2 separate regions of the Homo sapiens genome follow, and region 1 is linked to region 2. The links are contacts of gene promoters, found by promoter capture Hi-C in human tissues and cell types (Jung and others, 2019). All regions are on one chromosome and are shown on one strand. Each heading gives the region's core, a stretch centred on a gene start or on the middle of the fragment in contact. The rest is flanking DNA. Distances are from core to core; before and after follow the strand shown. Region 1 overlaps TEX2 (testis expressed 2). Region 2 holds the start of CD79B (CD79b molecule).

The links. Contacts are between HindIII fragments. The study calls those that stand out against the background at their distance.
Region 1: a contact is called between a fragment that was not itself captured here and the fragment with the promoter of CD79B in region 2, in 2 of the 25 tissues and cell types used here (adrenal gland and dorsolateral prefrontal cortex).

The regions. Positions count from the first base shown.
Region 1 is chr17:64,205,136-64,212,267 of GRCh38, forward strand. All of the region lies in intron 2 of TEX2 (testis expressed 2), which reads right to left. Among named protein-coding and RNA genes, the nearest start is that of TEX2, 55 kb to the right of the region's middle. The HindIII fragment of the contact is 3,395 bases long and covers 3,040-6,434 here.
Region 2 is chr17:63,929,832-63,936,184 of GRCh38, forward strand. CD79B (CD79b molecule) reads right to left here and starts at 2,500. Exons shown (of 6, transcript NM_000626.4): 1 at 2,364-2,500; 2 at 1,504-1,554; 3 at 243-554; 4 at 1-57. The coding sequence starts at 2,430. RefSeq lists a silencer at 1,350-1,419 and enhancers at 2,117-2,506, 2,480-3,150, 3,007-3,116, 3,127-3,176, 3,750-5,354 and 2 more. The HindIII fragment of the contact is 19,928 bases long and covers 1-6,353 here.

The DNA.
Region 1 (7,132 bases), core at 3,487-5,986, 280 kb after region 2:
TGAGGGCTGCCTGCATCAAAACATCTCACTGATTAGCCGTGCATGGTGATGCGCACATGTAATCCCAGCAACTCTGGAGGCTGAGGCAGGAGAATTGCCTGAACCCGGGAGGCAGAGGTTGCAGTGAGCCAAGATTGTGCCACTGCACTCTAGCCTGAGCGACAGAGCGAGGCAAAACAAACAAACATACAAACAAACAAACATCTCACCTGAAAACTATTCTACAAGGGGCACTGGGAAATAGCCATGTTTATAAAAACCATACATAAAAACTCAGGTAACCCATTATAGGGGCAGGATATTTTCAGTAAAGTATAATGTAGAAAGAAATGCACTCACATTTCTTGTCCTTACTCTAAGTTATAAGAGACCAACAAAAAGCAATCCAAGTCTCTTTGGGCTGCATGTAATGGCCATTTTCTCCTAAAGACTTGCTTACTCTAATTTCTTGAAAGAATTTCAACAAATTGAGATTAAATTTACAAATTGGAATTTCTCCTCAAAATTGATCATGTCCTCCCCCCAAAATTATTCTTTTATATATCAAAACCAAAGCCTATATTCAGGGAACCTATTTTTAAAACCTATCCCTCTTATTAAATATCTACATGTGACACAATCTAAAGAAAAAAAAGTTCTCCAAAATCCATTTCTATTAGTTTCTGCAATGGCCTAAATATAATTTTAGTCAAACTTGCAGGCCATATCTTTAAAAAAGAGATGGATTATCACTCTGGAAACCAATATGCTACTGCTGTGTTCTGCTGGTGGTTTATAAATCTGAGATAAAGAATTTGCTCGTGAATATAATTCAAAATTGCATCTGAGTCATATACTCAAACATAAATCCAAGACCCTTATGAAATCTTCAGGAAGCTTTTCATTATAAACATGTAGAAAGTTAGTGTGCAACAGGAATGGCTCTGAATTAAAAATAATCCTGGGCAAGGGACCATCTGATTTGGCTAAGCAAACATGCCAAGTGCAGTTTGCTGACTCTAAATGCCCCATTTTCCCCGTGCCCAAACCCACCCTTTCCCAAGGTCCCCAGCTTAGGGCATCTAGACAGTCACCCAACATAAGAACTCCTGAAGGCTACCACACAGGGGGTGTCACTACAGGGATGCCATTGGTCTGTGGCACACACGAGGCTCTTTGCCTTGAGCTAACCTGCCCAGCCCACCATGCTCTAAGTCCTATGAGCTTCTTCTCACATTTTGGTATTGGCCTTTGTGCCAATACCATGTGCATTCACATGCCACTTCCTGTTGAATGCCTGTAGCAACCTTTCTCCTATTTGCTGCTTCTCATCAGCTATGAACTCCAACATACTAAGAACAAGCAAGCTTTGGAGGAGGTCCTAAGAATTCTTCTGTGGACTTTGTGACAGCTCTTTGGCCACATAGAGGTCTTACTTTTTTTTTTTTTTTTTTTTTTTTTTTGAGACGGAGTTTCGTTCTTGTTGCCCAGGCAATAAGAGTACAGTGGTGCGATCTCAGCTCACTGCAACCTCCACCTCCCAGGTTCAAGCAATTCGCCTGCCTCAGCCTCCCAAGTAGCTAGGATTACAGGCATGCCCCACCACACCCGGCTAATTTTGTATTTTTAGCAGAGAAGGGGGTTCCACCATGTTGGCCAGGCTGGTCTTGAACTCCTGACCTCACATGATCCACCCACCTCAGCCTCCTAAAGTGCTGGGATTACAGGCGTGAGCCATCACACCCGGCCTCTTTTTTACTTATATTCTAGACAGTACAGCTGCTGATCAAATGGGTTCAGAGCGGGAGACGGCGGAGTACCATAGGGCCTAGACAACCACACAACAGTCTTTGAGATTAGCTACTACTTGGCTGCAAATTGGTCTTTTTGGTTTGTCATCCCATAAATGTATCACTGCTGCAGCATCATATATAAATACATATGTCTGCAGTGAGGACCCTGATAAAGTACACAAAAACTTTCCTTTTCTCCATTCTTTCCTCAGCATGTGAAGTTACACAGAAGAAAAACTGCAATGCTCCTTGAACTGTTCATGGAACCAGTAAAGGGGCAAGACTCTTAGTCCAGTCTGGCTGCAAGCAGTTCCTGGACCCATCAGTGAGAACTTATACGGCTCAGAGGTTCAAAACCACATGGTCTCCTAAAACAGTCCCTGAGCACCCAGCTCACTGCCTGACTGGTTCACAGCTCATATATGGAGTCCTCTTAGGGCATAAAGTATGCGGGATCTCGGTCCTGGGCTGGGCCTGTCTTGGAGATCTCGGTCGCAGGCAGGTATTATAGTCTTCCATATTGGTGAGCTTTTTAAAAAGGCTTCCGTACCTTCCCTCAAGAATTGCACCATCTTCTGTAAATACCAACTAAATTGGATCAGATGTACACAAAATAATTCAAACCAGCTCACTTATCCCCTGAAATCAAACATTTTCAATAAGTGGCTCTTTTGGCTTGCCCTAGAAACAAGTTCACAGGCCTGTTTTATAAAGAAACCAAGGTCTATCTCCTACATCACTTTAAAGCCATCAACCTGGAGGCAGAGTGGAAATCTGGAACTCATCACTGCCCACTTCTCCAATCCTCCACTTAGTATTTGCCTTTTTTTTTTCTTTTTTTTTTTTGAGACGGAGTCTCGCTCTGTCACTCAGGCTGGAGGGCAGTGGTGCGATCGCAGCTCACTGCAAGCTCTGCCTCCCGGGTTCACGCCATTCTCCTGCCTCAGCCTCATGACTAGCTGGGACTACAGGCACCCGCCACCACGCCCAGCTAATTTTTTTGTATTTTTAGTAGAGACAGGATTTCACTGTTAGCCAGGATGGTCTCGATCTCCTGACCTCGTGATCCACCCGCCTCAGCCTCCCAAAGTGCTGGGATTACAGGCGTGAGCCACCACACCCGGCCAGTATTTGCCTTTCTACTACTCCCTTTGCATTCAGGAGGGCAGCACTGCGTGAGCACTGGTCACAGGAGAGCAGACTTGGGTCACCAGTCGATTTCTAAGCAACAAATGTCAAGCTTCAAATCCTGTTAAAGATGGACTGTCTTGGCTTGTCCACTTTCAGAAAAAAAGCTTAGGAAAAGCTTTACTGTTTTGTTTTTGTTTTTGTTTTTGTTTTGTTTTTTTGAGACAGGGTCACACTCTATTGCCCAGGCTGGAGTGCGGTGGCATGATCACGGCTCAGTGCAGCCTTGACCCCCTGAGCTCAAGCGATCTTCCTGCCTCAGCCTCTCGAGTGGCTGGGACTGCAAGCTGCGCCACCACACCTGGCTTTTTAAACAAAACTTTTATAGAGATGGTGGTCCCACTATGTTGCCCAGGCTGGTCTTGAACTCCTGACCTCAAGCAATCCTCTGCCTTGGCCTTCCAAAGTGCTGGGATTACAGGGGTGAGCCACCACGCCCAACCAAAAGCTTTACTTTTTAGTAATTATTTTCATTTTCTTAAAAGATCACTCCTATTAAACCCTATTTTTTTTAAAGCAAGCATCAAGGATTTATTTTATTTTTTTAGAGACAGAGTCTCATTCTGTCACCCAGGCTGGAGTGCAGTGGTGTTATCATGGCTCACTGCAGCTTCAAACTCCTGGACTCAAGTGATCCTCCCACCTCACCCTCCTGAGTAGCTGGGACCACATGCATGCACCACCATACCTGGCTAATTATTTTAAATTTTTTGTAGAGATGGGATCTTGCTGTGTTGCCCAGGCTGGTCTCAAACTCCTGGCTTCAGGTGATCCTTCTGCCTCAGCCTCCCAAAGCTCTGGGATTACAGGTGTGGGCTACCATGCCCAGCTAGGGATTTCTTTTAAAAAGCAACATCACCAGGAGATGACAGGGTCAATACCAACTCACTGCTCAAATCTTCTGATAAAATCTCACTCCTTCATTCATCTACCCATCCATTCAGCCAACAATTACCTATCACATACCTAATACGTGGCAGGTGCTGAGGATACAAGATGAACAAGATGGACAGGGCCTATGCATTCATGAAGCTTATGGAATATTAGGGAAGACAGATAACAGTAAACTTGGGTCCTAAAGTTAATGTCAACGCTGCTAAATGTTTTAAAGTACCATAGTTTAAAAACGGTTCCCAAGAGTATAATCTCCCATTCAGTAAAATTAACTAAGTCCAAAGAACATTTGCATTTGAAATTAGCTTGTAACAGACAGCATATCCTTCTAATTCATAGTAGTGTCCCTTTTCTAAATAGAGAATGCATTCAGCCCAGTTTCTAAAAACAACACCGCATACCCAACAAAAGACTTCAGGCTAAAATATACTTTTCCTCTTTAGTAATGAAACCATTCTAAACAAGTTAAGGCTAAGAATGAAAAAAGAATTACCAAAGTGATCAGAGTTGTCCAAACAGCAATAAGGAAGAATAAATGCTTAGTCTATGACAGTTTGCTTGGATTAGGGGTGTCAGTCTATGAGAGCATTAAAGTACTTGTTCTCTACAAGGAAAATTCAAATACGTTTATCCTAGCCACTGTGGGCAAAACACCTTCCTTAAAAGAAAACACTGTCCTACAAGGCTCCACCACACACTAGCTGTGTGACCTTGGGCAATAACTTAACTTCTGTGGGCCTCCATCTGCATGAGCACATATACGCTAACTGAACAGGGTTGTGACGAGGATTGAATGAGATAATACACCCAACACTTAGCCCACTGCAGTGCTCAGCATCACAGTGTTGCCTTTATTCTTCCAGTGATCAGATCAAAGCAACCAGGCTGTGCTATAACATTAAAATCCCATTCCATCGGCACCCTGTGTAGTTAGTAAACTCTTGACATATCACAGTGATTGGATTGACACTAAGTAATTTACATCTGAGAAGAGGGTAGGAAAAAAACACTAAAGATTGACTGGATTAAAATTAAAATCTTCCTAAGACAAGTCAGTGCTCAAACCAGTTTAAACTGAATGCCACAGTCAGTCATTAGGTACTAGAGTTAATATAAGCGCAATTTTTCCTTGCTAAAGTTAGCACGAACTTACTTGGAGAGCACGTACTTCAGGTAGTCACTGCACCACCCTATCAGAAAAAGCTCAGCAACCACGCGTGAGTCATTTTTGCTCCACTTCATTTATTAACGCTAAGCTTAAGGGTGTCACATCCACAAGACTCAACACAGCTTCTCTTAAAGAAGAAAGTGTCATAACATATTGCCATGTGAAAGAAAGAAAAAAGGTCAGACTGCAAAATATATGATCCTATTAAATCAAAACAAAAAGAGTGGGTGAGTATGCATGTATGTGATGCATATCTTCATATATGCAGAAATTTTAAAAACCCAAAAAACTAGGATATATACCAAATCATTAACTGTAATTCCCTTCCACTAGTGTGATCAAAAAATTTTTTTTCTTTGGGTTTCCTGTGTTTTTAAAACATTAACCATGTATTTCCTTTGAACAAGGAAAAAAGTCAATGAAATTTAAAAACAAATATTATTTTGGATCCTAAAAGAATTCTCCCCAACCCCCAGCTTTTTTTTTTTTTTTTTTTTTTTTTGCAATAGGGACATCACGCTGCCATTTTTAGAGCATTCTCATTTAAATAGATGGGAGAATAATACCTTTAATTTAACTAAGAAGCCAAACAAGCTTTGAATTTGAAAAGCTAAAGATTAAAACCAATAATTAAGGTTCAAAATTGCTCCAGGGAAACGAAGTTCTCCTTTTCATACATCTCCTGTAACACAAGGAATTCTCCAGGCAGGTCTAGGCATGAACCTTCTGCAGAGAGGTGTCATGGGAAAAGCAGGAAGAGGACACACAAAGGCTCCAAAGCCTACCTCTGTTACTTATTTTATTATTATTATTATTATTTTTGAGACAGAGTCTCACTCTGTCACCCAGGCTGGAGTGCAGTGGCGCAATCTCAGCTCACTGCAGCCTCAGCCCCCAGGCCCAAGCAATTCTCCTGCTTCAGCCTCCCAAGTAGCTGAGATTACAGGTGCACGCCACCAAGCCCAGCTAATTTTTGTATTTTTAGTAGAGACAGGGTTTCACCATGTTGGCCAGGCTGGTCTTGAACTCCTGACCTCAAGTGATCTGCCTCCCTCAGCCTCCAAAAGTGCTGGAATTACAGGCGTGAGCCACCATGCCCAGCCTCTATTACTTATTAAGTAGCAAGACACCTTGGACAATGACCACCTCTCTCAGAGCCTGAATCTCCTCATGTGTAAAACTGGAAGCATCAAACTCCTGGATGGTTATGAAGCTGAATTAGATAACTTTTATAAAGCAGTGGTCTCTAAACTTTTCTGGCTTTCCACCTTATCTCTAAAAACATATACAATCAGCCCTCTATATCCATGGATTCAATCAACCTTGGATTGAAAATATGAAATTAAAAAAAATAATAACAATCCAACAGTAAAAAAGATACAAATTTAAAAATACAGCATAATAACCATTCACATTATGTTAGGTATTATAAGTAATCTAGAGATGATTTAAAAGTATACAGGAGAATGAGCATAGGTTATATATTAATACAAATACTATGCCATTTTACATAAGGGACTGAAACATTCATCGATTTTGGTATCCTTGGGGGGGGTCCTGAAACCAATGCCCCCTTGGATACTGTACATAAATGTGTGTGTGCATATAACTTACAAACTATATAAGTTCTAATTGTACTTTTATAGTGTGTATACACATAACCAGAAATTTTAATATGCAAAAAAATAATAATAAATAGAAGTTCTAGGCTGGACACAGCGGCTCACACCTGTAATCCCAGCACTTTGGAAGGCTGAAGCAGGAGGATCACTTGAGCCCAGAAGTTTGAGACCACACTAGGCAACATAGTGAGACTCCGTCTCAATCGACAGATTAGACAGCTAGATGAATGTTTCTTCCTGCTTCCCAATGAATTGTCCCAGGGACCCCTCAGGAGGCCCAAAAGCCTGACATCTGATATGCAGTGAAAGATGACATCTTTCTCCATCCCATTCCCCACCGTGCAAAGGAAAGAGGAGCACCAGCAGGGGCCAACAGCTGACATTAATTTGCCTTCTCTTCTTCCTTCCCTCCTCTTGCAATTCCGGGAGTATTTAACCCTTCTTCAAGGTCTCAAGAATAGTGAACCCTAACAGACTCAGCCATTAAA
Region 2 (6,353 bases), core at 1,250-3,749:
TGATGATACCATCCTTCAGCGTGTTCCTCTGCTTCAGCTGTGCCAAGGTGCTGAATCCTGCGGGGACAGGGGTGGGGTTGTGAGCCTGGGCCACAGTCCACCTTTTAGGCCTACAAGGGCAGCTCCCTCAGGTCCCAGTGGCTCTCCTGAGTGCTCTAGGGCCATGACCATCACCACAAGAGGCAGGCCGGGCTAGGGTGGGGCGGACAGCTACAGGAGCGTCCCAGCCACCTGGCACACACCCATGACTCGCAGCTCTGTGCCGCAGCCCTGGTAGACCTCCGAGGTGTTGTTGCACTTCTGCTGACAGAAGTAGATGCCATTGTCCTCAAACCGGATGCCTTGGATGGTGAGGGTGGCGAGAGATTCGTTCTGGGACTCTTCCATGCGGCCCTTTTCCAGCTTCAGCTGCTGGGGATTCTCGTCCATCTCCTGCTTCCAGAGCCAGCTCACATTGCCGGAGGCGCTGTTCATGTAGCAGTGCATTTTCACCGTGAAGCCCCGTTTCCTGGCTATGAAACGTGGGCTCTGCCAGATCCGCGAACAAGCACTACCTGTGGGTGCCAAGGCCAGGCTCAGCATTCCGCTTGGCATCTTCCTGAGTGCCAGCCCCAGCAGCAGGCCCCTGCCCTGGCTGGCACAGACTCCCTGGGCTTAGTCCTTGCTTCTCAGGGTGTGGGACAGGCAGGAGGCTGAGGTTGGAGTTGGGAAGCAGAGCCACGTGAGAGGCTGAGCCACATGAGAAGCCACGGCCAAGCTCTCAGACTCCACCTCTTCCCGACTGCCCCACCTCCCCTTCGATTTTCCTTTGGAAGAGCCCTGGGACCTTGCCATTCCTTCCTATGCCCATTACAACAGCCTGACCCAGGCCACACCCCCAGGACCTGGAGGCCCACAGGCCTGGCCCCTCCTTTCACTGGGCTGCCCTGCACAGGCTTGAAATCCTCAGTCTCCCCCGTTCCTCCAGGGATAAAGGCCAAATTCCTAGTCTGTCAACTGAGACCTTCCTCAGTCGACCCCCTCCCTGCATGACTTCCCTCTATCATCCCCCTCTTCCCTCCTGCAGGGACTGGGTCCACTTCTTGTTCCAGAACCCTCTTTCCAGCTTCGACTGCCTTGTTCTTAGTGAGCACTGCCCGGGAATCCCTGAGCCCCTCACATAGTGACCCTGCACTGGAGGGCTCACCCGAGACTCAGCCAGATTCCCAGCTAGACAGGCCCGGGCCTGAGTCCTAGAGGAACCCCCAGGCTCCCTTGCTATGACCCAGAGTTTAGCCCAGCCCTTCAGTGGCCAAGGCTGGAGGGCATGTGTCTGATGAGGATGACAGTGGGCTGGGGGTGGGGCTCAGAGGAGATCCTAAGGAGGCCTGGGGATGGGAATCCTGGATGGGGAGATCAGGCAAGGGTGGGAAGGCGGACCGCCCCCAGGACAGGGACCATAGTCGGACACAGGACATAGTCGCACACAACTTGCCCTCAGAAGCGGCAGGCGAGGCTACTGACCTTTGGGATTCCGGTACCGGTCCTCCGATCTGGCTGCTGGTACTGGCTCAGCTGCTGGGTGGGAGGAAGTGGGCGGGGCCAGTCAGGGCCTCCTCTGGCCTGGGCTGCCCCACCCCTGCATGCCCTCTATGTTCCCGGAGCTACTTCCTCCTTCCATGACAGCAGCTTCAAGACCCCTCGGTCCTCCCTGCCCCCAGTACTTGGGAGACAGATATGGGGTGGGGGTACCGGAAGCCCTGCCCCCAGCCCCCTTTCTGCCTTTGACCCTCATGGTGGCTTTGAGCAGGCATCTGAATGAGACAGGAGGGACAGGGAAATCTCAGTATTTTGAGAGGCCAAGACAGGAGGATCGCTTGGGTCCAGGAGTTTGAGACCAGCCTGGGCAACATAGGGACACCCTGTCTCTCTTTTTTTTTTTTTTTTTAAAGAGAGACAGGAAGAAAGTCACAGCCCGGAGGATCTTTCACCTCCCAGAGGAGGGGACCACATTTGGATCTTGCATCTTCCAGGGTCCGGTTGGGACAGCCTCTCCCCTCCCGACCCCCAGGCACCGCCCTCAGCCTCTCTTCCTCCTGAGCCTAGTTCTTCCACGGTCCTGGTTGCTAACTCTGGTTTGCTCCTCATGCCCAGCTCAGCCTGATGCTCTCCAGGCAGGAGAGGAACTGGGGCCACAGGCTCCTGAGCCCATCACCACGTGCAGCTGACACCCACAGACCCAGGCCCCAGGGCCATGAGAGGGAGACAGGCGGTAAAGAGTGAGAGACAGAGGAGGAGGGTGGAGCAAGCAGGAGGCAGAGCCGCAGGGCCCAGACAGCTGGAGATGAGAGCAAACCCCACAGGCCTCGTCGTGGGTTCTGTACCTGAGAGCAGCAGCAGCAACGCCACCATCCAGTGGCTGGGCACAGGAGACAACGCCAGCCTGGCCATGGTCACCGCTCTGTCCCCGACCCCAAACCCGTGACAACGTCCGAGGCTCCTTGGAGGAAAACGTGTAACTGCACCGGCTGCAGCCTGTCCCCTCCCCGCCTCTTCCTCACCAGGCCCCTTCCTGCCATGCAAATTGGGACCCAGGGGAGGCACCAGCTCTCCGGGGACCCTGGGGGAGGGCAGGCTTTTGTCAGCTGGGCCGCTAAGGTTTGGCGGTCGCCCAGCTTGGGCAGCACAGCTGGGGTCCTCTGTGGATGCCTCTGGGGGGCCTCTCAGTCTTCTGGGGGAAGCCTGTGCTCCCCTCTGTCTGTGCTTACCCCACCGGTGGTCATCCCCTGGGCCAGCCAGCCTCCCCTCTGCCGTCTGCCAACTCCCCGAAGGGCCGAGCCCGGCAAGTCTCTATTCCTGGGCCGTGAGCGAAATAGGCACCTGTCCTATGAATGAACCTGAACTTAGCTCCTCTGTCCTGAACTATTCCTCACCCAGCGGGAAGAGGAGCACTGAAGAAGGACAGGGCAGCCACAGACCCAGGTCAGGCATCTGGAGGGGCCCAGAGCAGAGCCTCTTGGCTGGAGTGCAGGCAGCCATGTTGGAAGTTGACCCTGTGGAGGATGGGAGCCACAGAGGTTCTGGAGCAAGAGCAGGTCAAGTGTGGCAGCCACTGGGAGAAGATTCAGTCCAGGTCTTGGTGAGAGGCCTCCCTTCCTCATGCTGTGAAAGAGTATGTAGGGGCTGCCAAACAGGGTGGATGTAGGTGGAGACAGCTTTGCGAAAATCCACCACGCAGCCACTGGGGGCTTCTTCAGGGAGTTCTTAACTGTGGGACTCTGAGTGCGTTGAATTGTTGTCTGCAGGTCCAGGGGGTCTTGGGCAGGGAACAGGAGCTGGTGTGGGGGAGCCCTCAGGTCCTCCAGCTGTATCCTGCCTGTCCTCAGAGTGCTGGATGGAGCCACAGTGCTCAGGAACTGATATAAACTCACCTTTGCGCCCCTGCCCCTGGGTCCAATGCAGCCCCTTCAGAGATGCCCTTGTGCAGGGCACAACATGCACAAGTGTACACAGCATGCTTGCAGACCTCAGCCCTGCAGCTGAGCCCTCTGAATTTTATGTTTCCTGGCAGCTTCTTTTTTGTCTCTCATCCTCGACCCCCAGGAGAGGAAGAGATGCTAAATCGTCGGTGCCCTCTGTCCACCTCTCACTCTCCTCACAACCCTCCGTTTTCCAGTCTGTGCTGGGGCAGGTCTGTCTGGATTTAGGGAGAAGCAGAACCACCTCCCATGCCATGGTTGGAAGGCAGAGGGTCTGGGTGGTCCCTCTTTAGATCTTGGCCTAGGCCTCGGACCTGATAAGGTGGGGGCCACTCTCAAGGGGTGCAGGCCAGGACCTGAGCCACGGAAGTCAGGGGCAGGAGGGTTAAGGTTTCATCCGAGGAACAGCCCGTTCCGGGCAGCCCCAGATGTTCTTTCTTGTTTCCAGATGTTCCAAATGAAAAAACATTTCTCTGAAAAGCTGTCAGATGTTCAGTTCATGGAATAAACAGCTCAGAAATATAAACATCACCTGAGGTCAGCTTGAGGCCCATGGGCCCGCATGCTGGTGAGGGTGGCTGGAGAGAGACTGACCCGGGGGGAGTGGGGCAAAATCTGGGAGTCTCATGGTTTAGGAAATACTCTTCCTGAGCCCCTAACGACAGAGTCCTTCATTAACTTTGGGGCTAGTGTCTCCCCAAAGTTGGGGGGTATAACTGGGAAAGGCTTGGGGCACACGTGTTTGTGGGGGGTGTGTGTGTGTGTGTATGTGCATGCTCACACAGGTGTGTTGCCTGGACCCTGTGGTGTGGGGCCTACTCTGGAGCTGGTCCTAGGGCTCAGCGGACTGTAGGGGGCACGGAGGTTGGTGGGGGGCAGTTGGCACCCATCCTCAGGTGACAGGTGCGCTAAAATCTCAGAAATCACCACTAAAGAACTTATCCAGGTAACCAAAAAAACTACCTGTACCCCAGAAAATATTGAAATAAAAAATTTAAAAAAACAAGTGAGAAGCAGCTCCCACTCCAGGGAGGGAAGACACACACATCCCGTGGACAAGGATGCAGATGTGGCCTTTGGGCTTCATTCCCATTCATGCCGGGCAGGGATCTGTTTTCAGGAGGGGCGGAGGCAGCGGGGGCCCCACCGCCTGCAGGGTTATTTGTCACATTTTGAGCCGTGCTGTTCCCTCACTGGTGACAACAGCCCTGAGCCCCATTTTGGGCTCATGATGCCCTTTTCTTCCCAGAACAGGAGGCCTCACAAGCCTACCCCTGCCTCTGCCCTCGGCTGCCCGGGGCTTCACATTCTGACTTCTGACGACACCTCCCTTTCCAGGAAGGCAACATCAAAATAAGGAATGGGGGCCAGGGTCGGGCGAAGGGACAAGGGGCTCAGGGGGTGGGGAAGCAAGAAGGCAGCGACCCCCAGCCACCCTAGGATGCCGGGAGGGGGAAGAACCTCAGGGAAAGAAGAGCTCAGACCCCTGCCTCCTTCTCCAGCCCAGGTGTCCTGGATCTGCTGGGCTGCTGTGACTGGGAAAAGACCTGCTAAGAAGGACGTGGGTTTGAGTCCTGACCCAGCAGTGTAGCAGCCAGGAAACCTCCCCAGGTTACCAGTGGTTCTCTACTAAGGGTGGCTCTGCCCCAACGGAGGGAGCGTCTGCACATGCATCAGGGCAATCGCGCTGGTCTCAATGACCGGTGGGTGCCTGGGGCGGGAGGGGCATTGGCTGGCAAAGCAGAGTTCCCTGCCCCACATGCCAACAGCACCCATGAGGCAACACCCATTCTTAACCTCTCAGTGACCAAGGTTCCTCATTTTCGTAAAATAGAAATAAGCCCAATAGCGCGTTTTTTTGTTGTTGTTTTCTGGGGTTTTTCTGAGACAAGATCTTGCTCTGTTGTCCAGGCTGGAGTGCAGTGGTGCAATCTCCATTCACGGCAACCTCTGCCACCTGGACTCAAGTGATTCACCCACCTCAGCCTCCCGAGTAGCTGGGACTACAGGTCATGCTACTACACCTGGCTAATCTGTGTATTTCTTGTAGAGACAGGTTTTACTATGTTGCCCAGGCTGGTCTCAAACTCCTGAGCTCAAGCGATCCACCCGCCTCAGCCTCCCAAAGTGCTGGGATTACAGGCGTGAGCCACTGCGCCCGGCCCCAACAGTGCGTTGGTCGAAGGGCAGCTGTGCACATTGAAGGCCATCCTGCATCTGAGGTACTTGGTGAATGTGGTGGACGGCACGCCCTGAGGAGGGCGAGGAGTGCGAGGAGTGGCACGGATGCCTGGGGAGGTGGGTAGCTGTGACTGTTGTCCCAAGTTGTCTCTGTTTCTCACCCAATATGAGGCCTTTTTTCTTCCACCATTCAAGGCTCAAAGGATGTGTGGGCTTGAGCACCCTGCGCTCTGCAAATCTTCCTGTCCCTGATGCCAGAGAGGGCTCCAGGCGAGGTCTGGAGGAACTTAAAGTGAAAAGAATGTCTCCAGTGTCATTTCTAATAGAGCTTATTTGGATCTTCTCTCTTTTCTTGGTTAATCTTGCTAATGGTCTATCAATTTTATCTTTTCAAAGAACCAGCTTTTTTTTTTTTTTGAGATGGAGTCTTGCTCTGTTGCCCAGGCTGGAGTGCAGTGGCATGATCTCAGCTCACTGCAACCTCCGCCTCCTGGGTTCAAGTGATTCTCCTGCCTCAGCCTCCCAAGTAGCTGGGACTATAGGCGTGCAACACTGCACCCAGCTAATTTTTGTATTTTTAGTAGAGATGAGGTTTCACCATTTTGGCCAGGCTGGTCTCAAACTCCTGTCCTCGTGATCTGCCCGCCTCGGCTTCTCAAAGTGCTGGGATTACAGGCATGAGCCACTGTGCCCGGCCCAACTTTTTGTTTTAAT